Regions from separate parts of the Homo sapiens genome. Here region 2 is linked to region 1. Evidence: promoter capture Hi-C in human tissues and cell types (Jung and others, 2019). All regions are on one chromosome and are shown on one strand. Each heading gives the region's core, a stretch centred on a gene start or on the middle of the fragment in contact. The rest is flanking DNA. Distances are from core to core; before and after follow the strand shown. Region 1 holds the start of CNTLN (centlein). Region 2 overlaps CNTLN (centlein).

What was found. Contacts are between HindIII fragments. The study calls those that stand out against the background at their distance.
Region 2: a contact is called between a fragment that was not itself captured here and the fragment with the promoter of CNTLN in region 1, in 2 of the 25 tissues and cell types used here (H1 embryonic stem cells and lymphoblastoid cells).

The regions. Positions count from the first base shown.
Region 1 is chr9:17,131,906-17,137,966 of GRCh38, reverse strand. CNTLN (centlein) reads right to left here and starts at 2,927. Exons shown (of 26, transcript NM_017738.4): 1 at 2,542-2,927. The coding sequence starts at 2,901. RefSeq lists an enhancer at 2,083-2,646. The HindIII fragment of the contact is 19,584 bases long and covers 1-6,061 here.
Region 2 is chr9:17,213,528-17,219,588 of GRCh38, reverse strand. The region is part of intron 2 of CNTLN (centlein); the gene reads right to left. Among named protein-coding and RNA genes, the nearest start is that of CNTLN, 82 kb to the right of the region's middle. The HindIII fragment of the contact is 6,789 bases long and covers 1-6,061 here.

The sequences.
Region 1 (6,061 bases), core at 1,678-4,177:
TTTTCTTCATATAAGCATTATTTATAGTTCAGTTGCTAATCAGGGGGCCATATTTTTTTAAAGTTTAATTAGATAATACAATCACTTAGAGTGGGATGAGATGCTGATATTAAGAGAAACATTTGATTGCTTTCTATTACATGCTTATTCTGAGGCATTCCAATGATGTAGAATGGTATGGGGAATTACTCAAACTTCACCAAGCACACATCACTGAATTCCCATAAGTTGAATGTGAAAGCAAAACAAATTAAATGAAGCTACTACTTATGACCATGGACTAATTAGCAGTGTTCTTTTTCCTAAACTGTATGTTTCAAGCCTTGTTGGGTTCTGAAATTAATTTAGATCTGGACAGCATTTTTTAAAGGAATAGAACTGAAAAAATATCAGCCCACACAGTATTAGGGCATGTATTCTTTCTGAAAATATATGTTTGTATATGTGTGTACTTACTAGATTGAGATACAAAATTTTACTTCGAGTTGTAATTTTCAGCAGTTTTAATGCTATGTATTCTTGGGTACTGTGATCTCTAGCTGAATAAATAAGCGGGAGAGTATACTTTAAAAGATATAAAAGTGAATATTTAATCACCTAAATGCTTTTTACAAAACAATTGGGAGTTCAATTACTATTTTTCCCCAAGATTCCCGAAGAGCAGGAGTCTGATTTGACTAAGATTTTTATGGTGCGGGATACTGCCTACAATTATATAAGAGTATTAATATTACAAAATCTAAGAGATCATCATTCTAGACTATTATGACCATCTCTGTATTCTTACATTTGCCAAGAGTATGTCAATCATTTTCCTAGTCTATATATGTCCGAGGTCACAAAAGCCAACACCATGTTTGGAGCCACATTTTTAAAGAATGTAAGTATTTGTGGGAAGAGGTTCATCAGGCTGTTTCCAATAGACTGACTTCCTTAACCAAGTCGGTCATAAAAAAGTATCTTAGCTCTTTAGCCAGCTAAAGGCCTAACTATGTGGGGAGGCAGAAGTGGGAGGAAAGAGTGCGGAAAATATGCCAAAGAGTGTCTTAGATTAGGACTCAGAGTATCAAAGGCCTTTATCATGGGTTCACATCTTAAAACTCCCCAAAGGGTGAGGTCTGCAGATGACAAATGCTTCAATTCATTGTTGTCATTTATTTATCCCTTTGCTCCTTATCCAACGAAGAACAGAAAAATGGTAAAACGAAAAGAGGGCACCATATTAAATGTCCCAACCTTGTTTAACCAAAGGCACATTCAATTTGAAGATGGTCCCATTTTTACACCCTTCACTCAGTCAGCAAGGACCTATAAAATGGGCAAAAGAATCCAACAGAACAAACTATGAGAGAATGAATTTCTGTAATCCCAGCACTTTGGAAGGCCAAGGCTGGCGGACCACGAGGTCAGGAGATCGAGACTGTCCTGGCTAACACGGTGAAACCCCATCTCTACTAAAAATACAAAAAATTAGCCAGGCGTGGTGGCGGACACCTGTAGTCCCAGCTATTCGGGAGGCTGAGGCTGGAGAATGGCGTGAACCCGGGAGGCGGAGCTTGCAGTGAGCTGAGACTGCACCACTGCACTCCAGCCTGGGCGACAGAGAATGAATTTCATGAACTGTTTTATTAAACTGATGATACTGTTCACAAAGTTACTTTGATGTTCAGCAGCTCCTAATTGGTTTCTAAGTTGAAGACAGAGTGACTTAAAGATCTACTGTTCAGTGAGTTTCCCACATCCAATCTCCCAACCCTATCTAAAGGTTCTGGTAAAATCAAAAGAGATGATGGTAAGGATGCAAAACTAAAGGAAAATTCAATCTCTTTGAACATGAGTATAGTCAAGTCCATCCTTACAAAAACTCTACAAACAGGAAAGTAATTTTAATGCAATTGATTTAGCAAATGTTTTTCACTGGCAAGATCACATGAAAATGTGATTTCTCACTCAAGGACCGCGGAATTACCATAGCTGGTTAATAAACAAGTACCAAGCATCATCTATTGTTAAGTTCCCGGCTCTGAGACTTTCTAAACGTTACTCGTCTGTGTTTACAACTTAAGTTTGACTGGGTAAAAACAAAGCCAAGTGTGGGTTTGAAATTTTAAAAACAGGCTCCTTCATCGATGGATTTTACTCTAACCGAAGTGTTTACACTTTCCTGTTCATTTCAACTAGTGGACTGCATGTCACTCCTGGGCCCCCGGCAGGTATCAGCTACCGTCACCACCAAGAACTTGGGCTTGGGGGGGAAGCGGAGAGGATGCGACTGCGAGTATCCAAGTGACCAAAACCAAACCCGGGCGCGGAGGCGAAGCCTGTCTGGCCGCAGTTCGGAAAGGGGCAGGGGCCCGGGTTTGGGGAGCCGGGCGCAGCCGCGTCCCTCCAGCCCCCGGCCGCGAGCGAAGCAGGGTGTGCATCTGCCAGGGAGCGTCGCTGGGCGGGGTAGGTCCCAAGGCAGAGGGAGAAAGGCGCGCCTCCCCACGGGTCCCGGCCCCGCTGTGGTGGGGAAAGGGGGACTGCGAGACTCCTCGATACCTGACACAGGGCCAACTCCTCCTTTAGGCTGCTCAGCTCTTCCTCCAGCAGCTGCGTCCGGGTCACCATCGCCTCCTCTACCGAGATGCCCTCTAGCCGTCTGGACCCCATGGGCGCGCTGAGGAGGGGAGCATGAGCCGGAGCTGCCCCCCCAGGCCCTCGCCGGCCCCCTGACCCTTCTTCACCCACCCAGATTTTATCACTTTCGTCCGCGACCACCTCCCGCGCTGCGCCGGCAAAACCCGAGGCCTCGCTGCGCATTGCGTGTACTTCAGCTCCCCGCCCAACACGTGGGGACCTGGGGCCCAGCTGTCGCGCTGGGGGCGAAGGGTGCGGTGAGGGAGGCGAACGCGCCGCCATGGCTGCGGCTGCTAACGGGTCAAGTTCCCTGTTGGAAACTCCACCTCCCTTTCCCCAACCCGGCGAGCCCGGAACGCCGAACCGCGCATGCGCGAGGCTTTTCCCGCCTTGGCCCGCGGTGTCCCGTGTTCTCTGGTCCTGGCCGGCTTCCCGCGGGCAATGCGCCCAGCGCGAGCCTTGGGGTACGCACGCGCCGTGGCCCGAAAGGGTAAGGCCGGTCCGCCGGGCAGGCCATCCCAGCGTCCTGTGCCTGAGTCCTTGGCCAGGATCGCCTGGATTTCCCGCCCACCTAAAGCCCTGCCTGCCACTTACATCCCACCTCTTAAAGCCTTCCTTGACAAGCCCCCAGCCCCAAATGATCCTTAACTGTGAAATCCCTCTCCTTCAAGGCCCCTGCCAACTCGTGTGACACGTTTCATTGACCGCCCTGGAGTGTCAGTTACACGGCTAATCTCCCCAGCCCTGTTGTAAGCTCCTTGAGGATCAAGGAATACGTTTTACACTTAAGTGTTTTCTTCACACCCCTTGGCAAAACTGCTTTAGTACAGCTGACATCCAGCTGACTAATGTCAAGGAGATGTGGAAAGCCTTGTGCTGATCTGGGACTATCAAGCAGGTTTCCAACTTGAATGATGATCCTTTGTACACCCTTTGTCTTTTGTTTTGCAGGAGTCATGATTTCCTTTGAGTTTTTATGTCAGCTTCTTTATGCGTTGGCTGGATATCAGAGGAAGTGTAGCCCACATTGCTGAACAGTTTGGGTCCTTGGAGCAGTTTGAAATCAGTAATTTGGAGCGTGGATGAAGAAACAAGACCTACTTTATCTTTTGTTCTCTTTTTTTTCTTTTTCTTCTGGCTTTCTTTATAAACTTCAAATAGGTAGTAATCGTATCTTTCTTTGCCCTTCAAATACTTTGTTACTATTGATAAGATTAATGAGATGCATATTGAGCTGGCACCAGAACATCCCTGAAAGTTAGAACTGCCCTCTTCTTCAGAAAGGGTTCCAGAATACTTGGGGAAAGCTGAGATGGGGGTTGAGAGCAGAAGTAGAGAGATGACCACTTTACTGTTAACTTCATTTAACCAAAATATCACCATCTCTGCATGAGAATCTAGTCAGGATGCCAAAAGACACCCTCCCAATTAGAATCCTGCCAAGGCAACCAAGATAAGTGGACTTCTTTCAAACTGAAGGTGAATTCCTCACAAAAACTTATTAAAGAGTACATTAGAAAAAGTATGTTTATAAGCCTGTCTTAGAACTAGCTAACCTACTGAACATTTACCATATGCTGAGTCCAGTGCTAAGCACTTTTCATATATGAACTCACTTAATACATATGTCACCTTCAATTAGATTATTATATATCTCCATTTTTACTAGTGAGGAAACAGACTTGCAAGGTTACTGTAACTTCTCTGAAGTGCCATGTCTGGTATCAGAAAAGCTAGGCTTTGAATTCACTGAATTCCACTTAACTCTGAAAACCTGTACTTTGATCGCTACCCTGTCTCCACACCTGTGACTTGAAATACAACATTTGGTCTTGATAGTCTGTGAGATTTCACTAGACTTAAGACTGGGAAGTCTAACCACATAAGTTACGTGTTTGGCCCCAAATCAGTATTAATGCACATTTTTAATTGCTGTATGTCATTCACTCAAAAGGACATCATTTCACCTGATCATAAAAAGATCCTTTTGAAAAGCAGTGGTATAAATATGTATATGTGACCTCCCAAAAGGATAATATCCTGACTCTTTGACTAGGCATTTTTTTAAATTTTGTCTTTATTGGAGCAAAATACACAAAATACACAACATAAAATTTACCATCGTAGGCATTTTAAATGGCTACAAATAGGCCAGGCGTGGTAGCTCACGACTGCAATCCCAGCACTTTGGGAGGCCGAGGCTGGTGGATCACTTGAGACCAGGAGTTCGAGACCAGCCTGGACAACATAGTGAAACCCCGTCTCTGCTAAAAATACAAAAATTAGCTGGGAGTGGTGGTGCATTCCCGTAATCCCAGCTACTAGAGAGGCCACGGCAGGAGAATCATTGGAACACGGGAGGCAGAGGTTGCAAACAGCCAAGATCATACCACTGCACTCCAGCCTGGGTGATAAAGCAAGACTGTCTCAAAAAATAAATAAATAAATAAAATGGCTACAAATAAAAAACAATTCAGCAGCATTAACTACATTCACCATGTTAGGCAACCACCACCACTATCTGGTTCCAGAATATTTTCATCACCGGAGGCGGAAACCACATACCCACATTAGTCTCTCCACATTCTCACTGCCCCCGAGCCCCAAGCAACCATTAATTCCCTTTATGTCTCTACGGTTTTGCCTGTTTGGGATATTTCATATCAATGGAACCATATAATATGTGGCCTTTTGTGTCTGTTTTCTTTTATTAGCATAATGTTTTCAAGGTTCATCTATGTTATGGCATGTATTAGTACTTCATTCTTTTTTATAGCTGAAAATATACCATTGTATGGATATCCTCCATTTTGTTTATCCATTCATCTGTTAATGGACCTTTGGGTTCTTTCTGCCTTTTGCCTATTGTGAACAGAGCTGCTATAAACATTCACGTACAGGTTTTTGTCTGAACATTTATGTTCAATTTTTTGTTTATATACCTATGAGTAGAATGTCTAGGTCATATGTTTAATTTACTGAGGAATCACCAAACTCTTTTCCACAGTGGTTGTGTCATTTTACCTTCCCATAAGCAATGTATTAGCATTCTAATTTCTCATCATCCTCACCAACACTTATTTTTTGTTTTAGTTTTGTGTCATTTGCTTTTTTTAAATTATACTTTAAGTTCTAGGGTACATGTGCACAACGTGCAGGTTTGTTACATAGGTATAAATGTGCCATGTTGGTGTGCTGCACCCGTTAACTCATATTTACATTAGGTATATCTCCTAATGCTATCCCTCCCTCCTCCCCCCACCCGATGACAGGCCCCAGTGTGTAATGTTCCCCACCCTGTGTCCAAGTGTTCTCATTGTTCAATTCCCACCTATGAGTGAGAGCATGCGTTGTTGTTTGTTTTTTATGGCCAGTCTAGTGGGTGTAAAGTGCTGTCTCCTTGTGGTTTTCATTTGTATTTTTCCCCATGACTAATGACAAT
Region 2 (6,061 bases), core at 1,575-4,074, 82 kb before region 1:
AAAACTTCAAAAATATACCTGAATGGTATATCTTATAACCAAAAACCTCCAAAATTGACTAATATGTTATAATTTTGAAATTGAAAGATAATCAAAACTCAAAATATGGCAATTTGTCTAGCAGCTCCTCCTGGTGGTATGAGATGTCTAACATTTTCATAACAGGAAAATGCTCCCAAGATAAAATGGTGCTGTAACAGGAATACAATATTTTCTACTTGAAAAAATAAAATTTTTAAATATTGTTTCAAGTTTATAATGTCACCAACCAATCTGGTCAATTCAATTAATACATGTACTTCTATGTACTTACAAGACCTAAAAAAAAAAAGGTTCCTTAAAAAGAAAAAAAAAGACACTGCCAGGAGCTGATGATGATCAATGACTGAGACAAACTCCTGTTTAGCTAATTAGAACCACTGATGTGCAATAATGATGTGAGCGAAGAATATTTGCCGACTTCTTTAGAATGAAAAATGAAGCGAAGAGAGGCTGTCAAATCTGTACAACTTTTAAGCACCAATCATTTTTCCCAAGAGTACTTCCCATTTAAACATTTTAACAATGCTGTACTTAGCCACATGAATTACCACGCTAACTTTCAGTCATTTTTCTAAGCTCAAAAATCTGAGAAATTATTCTGAATCATTAAGAAACAAAATTTTATTATGTTATAGACCATGCCATATATTATACACTACAACAGGATCATATTTTCTGGGTTTGAGCCCACTTTTAATGAGATGTCAAAATGAAATATTAGAGTCTAAAAAAACATCCAACTATAAATGAGGCAGTGATATTGGTCTGAATTTATAAACAAAATAAAAAAGCAAAACTTACTGAAGTTGGTTATTTTTGATTTACAGACATAAATAACACACAAAATAAAGCTATTTATTGGACTAACGTTTTCTTTCATTTGAGTAGAGAACCTATTAAAATGCAGATTTTATACATATCAATGGTTTGCAATTTAAACAATTCCCAATTTCTAGTAAACACTAAGATTCTAAAACAGTAAGACTTAATAACAGAAGTTCAGAGAAATCAAAGTTATGCCATCATCAAATTATCCATTTATTCATGAACTATTTTATAAGTATTTCTTCTTATGAATACGCATAGTGAATTACTGGAATGGCATCTATAAACAATATAACAATAATAAAACTTGAAAAAGAGGTTGCAAAAATATTGTACAAACACATTTTACTCCACAGTAAAAGCAAATATTTAAAAAAAGAAAACTTTAATATGTGGAATAAAAATAATTCAACAGATCTTAATTCATGTAAAAACTTTGATATAAAATGTTTTAAAGGCTCAAGTATAGTTAATATATCTACTTTGCTTTTATACAAAACTGAGTTTTTATTGTATAATCCAGAATTTAGAACTATTATATTTAATTTCCAGTATAAAATACATGTTTAAAATTATATTTGAAAGCCAAAACTTGTGCTGGAGAAGTTGGCAAACGACAAATGATGGACATTTTTTTCCTTATTCAATCAGACTAAAATGCAGAAGATTATCAGGCTAAGATGTGAATCTGAATCTGTAAATTATGGAGTACAGATGAACCCTTTAAACAAAGAAGCAACAATTCAAAAGAACACATCTGCTTATATTAAATATAGTATTAAATAAGATCAGATACTCTTTATATATCAGATACTCATTCAACACCATTTCTAAATATACAAAGCTGAAACTCAAAACAAAACCTTTTTCTGTTTTATAGTTAGAAATTAAGTGACTATTTCCTGATTTTCTTATATTTCATCTCTTTTAACTATTTGTCCAGATATTTCTGCATATACTCAACATTTATTATGTAAAACAACATAAAAGAGTAGGAAAAGATTGTGTATTATATGCCTTTTATGATTGTGCATTATATGCCTTTCATGATTGTGCAAATATTTTTCACCCAGAATCTAGAAGTTTCTTCCAGTGTTTGAAAATCAGCACTTCAGAACAGACTGTTTTAACATCTGCACATCACCAGGGTTGCCCCCAAGGATTTTTAAATGATGCCTGCCTGTGCTGAATAAAGTGCTAACTTGCACCTTGCATTTCAAACTGTGTCCTGAGCAGCCATCCAGTTGGTACAACACCAGCTGAATTCCCACAGGCCACTGTTCACTCAGGCTTGACTACAATTATCATGTCAATATTTTGTGCTCCGATATGCAGATATGCACACATGCAAGCTGCATAATACTTTCTTCCCCATGGAATGTTGAATTACGTTCAATGTTCTGGGAATTTTTAAGAAAACAGAAATAAACTCTCAACAAATAAAGGTGATCACAATTATTTTACCTTAAAAACAAAAGCTATGTTTCTGTACCACCTTCTGCCATGTGTATAAAGATTAAATTTTTAAAGTAACTATTCCTTACTATAATCTCACAATTATTTAATTTAAAAATCTTCATAAAAGTTAAAAGACTATTTGGTTAAGCTTCCTGCATCTATTGTAAAAGTTTGAATGTGATTCTTCATGTTTATTGCAAGTACTCTCACCTTGAACATTAGAGTGGTTCCAATTAAACACCTTTCAGTTAGTTCCCATGACCATCCATCCACATCCCTGCCTAGGCAATCATGGCTCTTGCAACACGAAAAGTGCTCAGCAAAAATACATTTATGCCCTGGGTGGAACTGCCTGGCAGCATTGCTACCAGATGGCATAATTCTGGCAGCTACAGTTCTGGGGTCTCCAAACAGCCACGCTACTATCATGCTCCAAACTGCAACCCCTTTGCAGCCTATGTTGGCTTAATACACATGGGACAGGGTACAACCATATAGCAGCTGTGTAACCCAAGTGCTTTAGAGTGGAAAGGAGCAGGAGGGAGGTGGTCCCAGTAGTGAGAGAATATAACATAAACTTACAGAAATAGTCTCCCTATCAAACATGCAAACATGTAAACTTTAACTCTAAAAATTGAAATAAAATAAGAAATAGAAATAAAAATAAGACAATCTCTCCTTTACTATGAAATTAAATCTTTGAACCAAGTGTATCAAGGATATAGCACACATATCCTTGATAAATGTATCAATAAAATCTTAATAAACCGGCCAATAAAAACATGTCAATAAAATCTAAAAATCATCTTGCCTTTATTCCCTTTTACCATTCTAATTTTCCAGAATTGAGTTTTCATTACCAAACAGGAGGAGGAAAAGAACTGAAAATAGGAAAGTGAGCACAAGAAAAAAGTATTAACAAGTCTACAAAAAAAGTACAGAATATTAAAAAGAAAGCAAACCACATCTTCAAAATTTACACAACTAGCAAGCCAGGATTACAAATCCAGTTACCTGACTCAACGGCTTGTGTTCTTAACCACTAATTATTAAAAATAGCCTGGGGGACAGTTCCAAGTTGGTCAAATAGGAACAGCTCCAGTCTACAGCTCCAAGAGTGAGCAACTCAGAAGATGGGTGATTTCTGCATTTCCAACTGAGGTAACGGGTTCAACTCACTGGGGCTTGTCAGATAGTGGGTGCAGGACAGTGGGTGCAGCCCACCGAATGTGAGCCAAAGCAGGGTGAGGCACTGCCTCACCCGGGAAGTGTAAGGGGTCAGGGATTTCCCTTTCCTAGCAAACGGAAGCTGTGACAACCAGCACCTGGAAAATCAGGTCACTCCCACCCTAATACTGCGCTTTTCCAACGGTCTTAGCATACGGCACACCAGGAGATTATACCCCGCGCCTGGCTCAGAGGGTCCCACACCCACGGAGCCTCGCTCATTGCTAGCACAGCAGTCTGAGATCGAACTGCAAGGTGGCAGCGAGGCTGGAGAAGGGGTGCCCACCATTGCTGAGGCTTGAGTAGGTAAACAAAGCGGCCAAGAAGCTCGAACTGCGTGGAGCCCACCGCAGTTCAAGGAGGCCTGCCAGCCTCCACAGACTCCACCCCTGGGGGCAGGGCATAGCCAAACAAAAGGCAGCAGAAATCTCTGCAGACTTAAATGTCCCTGTCTGACAGCTTTGAAGAGAGCAGTCGTTCTCCCAGTATGGAGTGTGAGATCTGAGAATGGTCAAACTGCCTCCTCAAGTGGTTCCCTGACCCCCGAGTAGCCTAACTGGGAGGCACCCCCTAGTAGGGGCAGACTGACACCTCACATGTCTGGGTACTCCTCTGAGATGAAGCTTCCAGAGGAATGATCAGGCAGCAACATTTGCTGTTCAGCAAAATTCGCTGTTCTGCAGCCTCCGCTGCTGACACCCAGGCAAAGAGGTTCTGCAGTGACCTCCAATAAACTCCAACAGACATGCAGCTAATGGTCCTGACTGTTAGAAGGAGAACTAACAAACAGAAAGGACATCCACACCAAAACCCCATCTGTACGTCACCATCATCAAAGACCAAAGGTAGATAAAACTACAAAGATGGGGAAAAAACAGAGCAGAAAAGCTGAAAATTCTAAAAATCAGAGCTCCTCTCCTCCTCCAAAGGAATGCAGCTCCTCGCCAGCAACGGAACAAAGCTGGATGGAGAATCACTTTAACGAGTTGAGAAAAGAAGGCTTCAGACAATCAAACTTCTCCCAGCTAAAGGAGGAAGTTCGAACCCATCACAAAGAAGCTAAAAACCTTCAAAAAAGATTAGACAAATGGCTAACTAGAATAACCAGTGTACAGAAGTCCTTAAATGACCTGATGGAGCTGAAAACCATGGCACGAGGACTACGTAATGAATGCACAAGTTTCAGTAGCCAATTTGATCAACTGGAAGAAAGGGTATCAGTGATTGAAGATCAAATGAATGAAATGAAGTGAGAAGAGAAGTTTAGAGAAAAAAGTAAAAAGAAATGAACAAAGCCTCCAAGAAATACATGACTATGTGAAAAGACCAAATCTACATCTAATTGGTGTACCTGAAAATGATGGGGACAATGGAACCAAGATGGAAAACACTCTGCAGGATATTATCCAGAAGAACTTCCCCAACCTAGTGAGGCAGGCCAACATTCAAATTCAGGAAATACAGAGAACGCCACAAAGATACTCCTCGAGAAGAGCAACTCCAAGACACATAATTGTCAGATTCACCAAAGTTGAAATGACGGAAAAAATATTAAGGGCAGCCAGAGAGAAAGGTCGGGTTACCCACAAAGGGAAGCCCATCAGAATAACAGCAGATCTCCTGGCAGAAACTCTGCAAGCCAGAAGAGAGTGGGTGCCTATATTCAACATTCTTAAAGAAAATAATTTTCAACCCAGAATTTCATATCCAGCCAAACTAAGCTTCATAAGTGAAGGAGAAATAAAATACTTTACAGACAAGCAAATGCTGAGAGATTTTGTCACCACCAGGCCTGCCCTACAAGACCTCCTGAAGGAAGCACTAAACATGGAAAGGAACAACCGGTACCAGTCACTGCAAAAACATGCCAAAGTGTAAAGACCATCGAGGCTAGGAAGAAACTGCATCAACTAATAAGCAAAATAACCAGCTAAAATCATAATGACAGGATCAAATTCACACATAACAATATTAATCTTAAATGTAAATGGGCTAAATGCTCCAATTAAAAGACACAGACTGGCAAATTGGATAAAGAGTCAAGACCCATCAGTGTGCTGTATTCAGAAGACCCATATCACCTGCAAAGACACACATACGCTCAAAATAAAGGGAAGGAGGAAGATCTACCAAGAAAATGGAAAACAAAAAAAGGCAGGGGTTGCAATCCTGGTGTCTGATAAAACAGACTTTAAATCAACAAAGATCAAGAGACAAAGAAGGCCACTACATAATGGTAAAGGGATCAATTCAACAAGAAGAGCTAACTATCCTAAATATATATGCACCCAATACAGGAGCACCCAGATTCATAAAGCAAGTCCTTAGAGACCTACAAAGAGACTTAGACTCCCACACAATAATAATGGGAGACGATAACACCCCACTGTCAACATTAGACAGACCAACGAGTCAGAAAGTTAACAAAAATATCCAGGAATTGAACTCAGCTCTGCACCAAGCAGACCTAAGAGACATCTACAGAACTCTTCACCCCAAGTCAACAGAA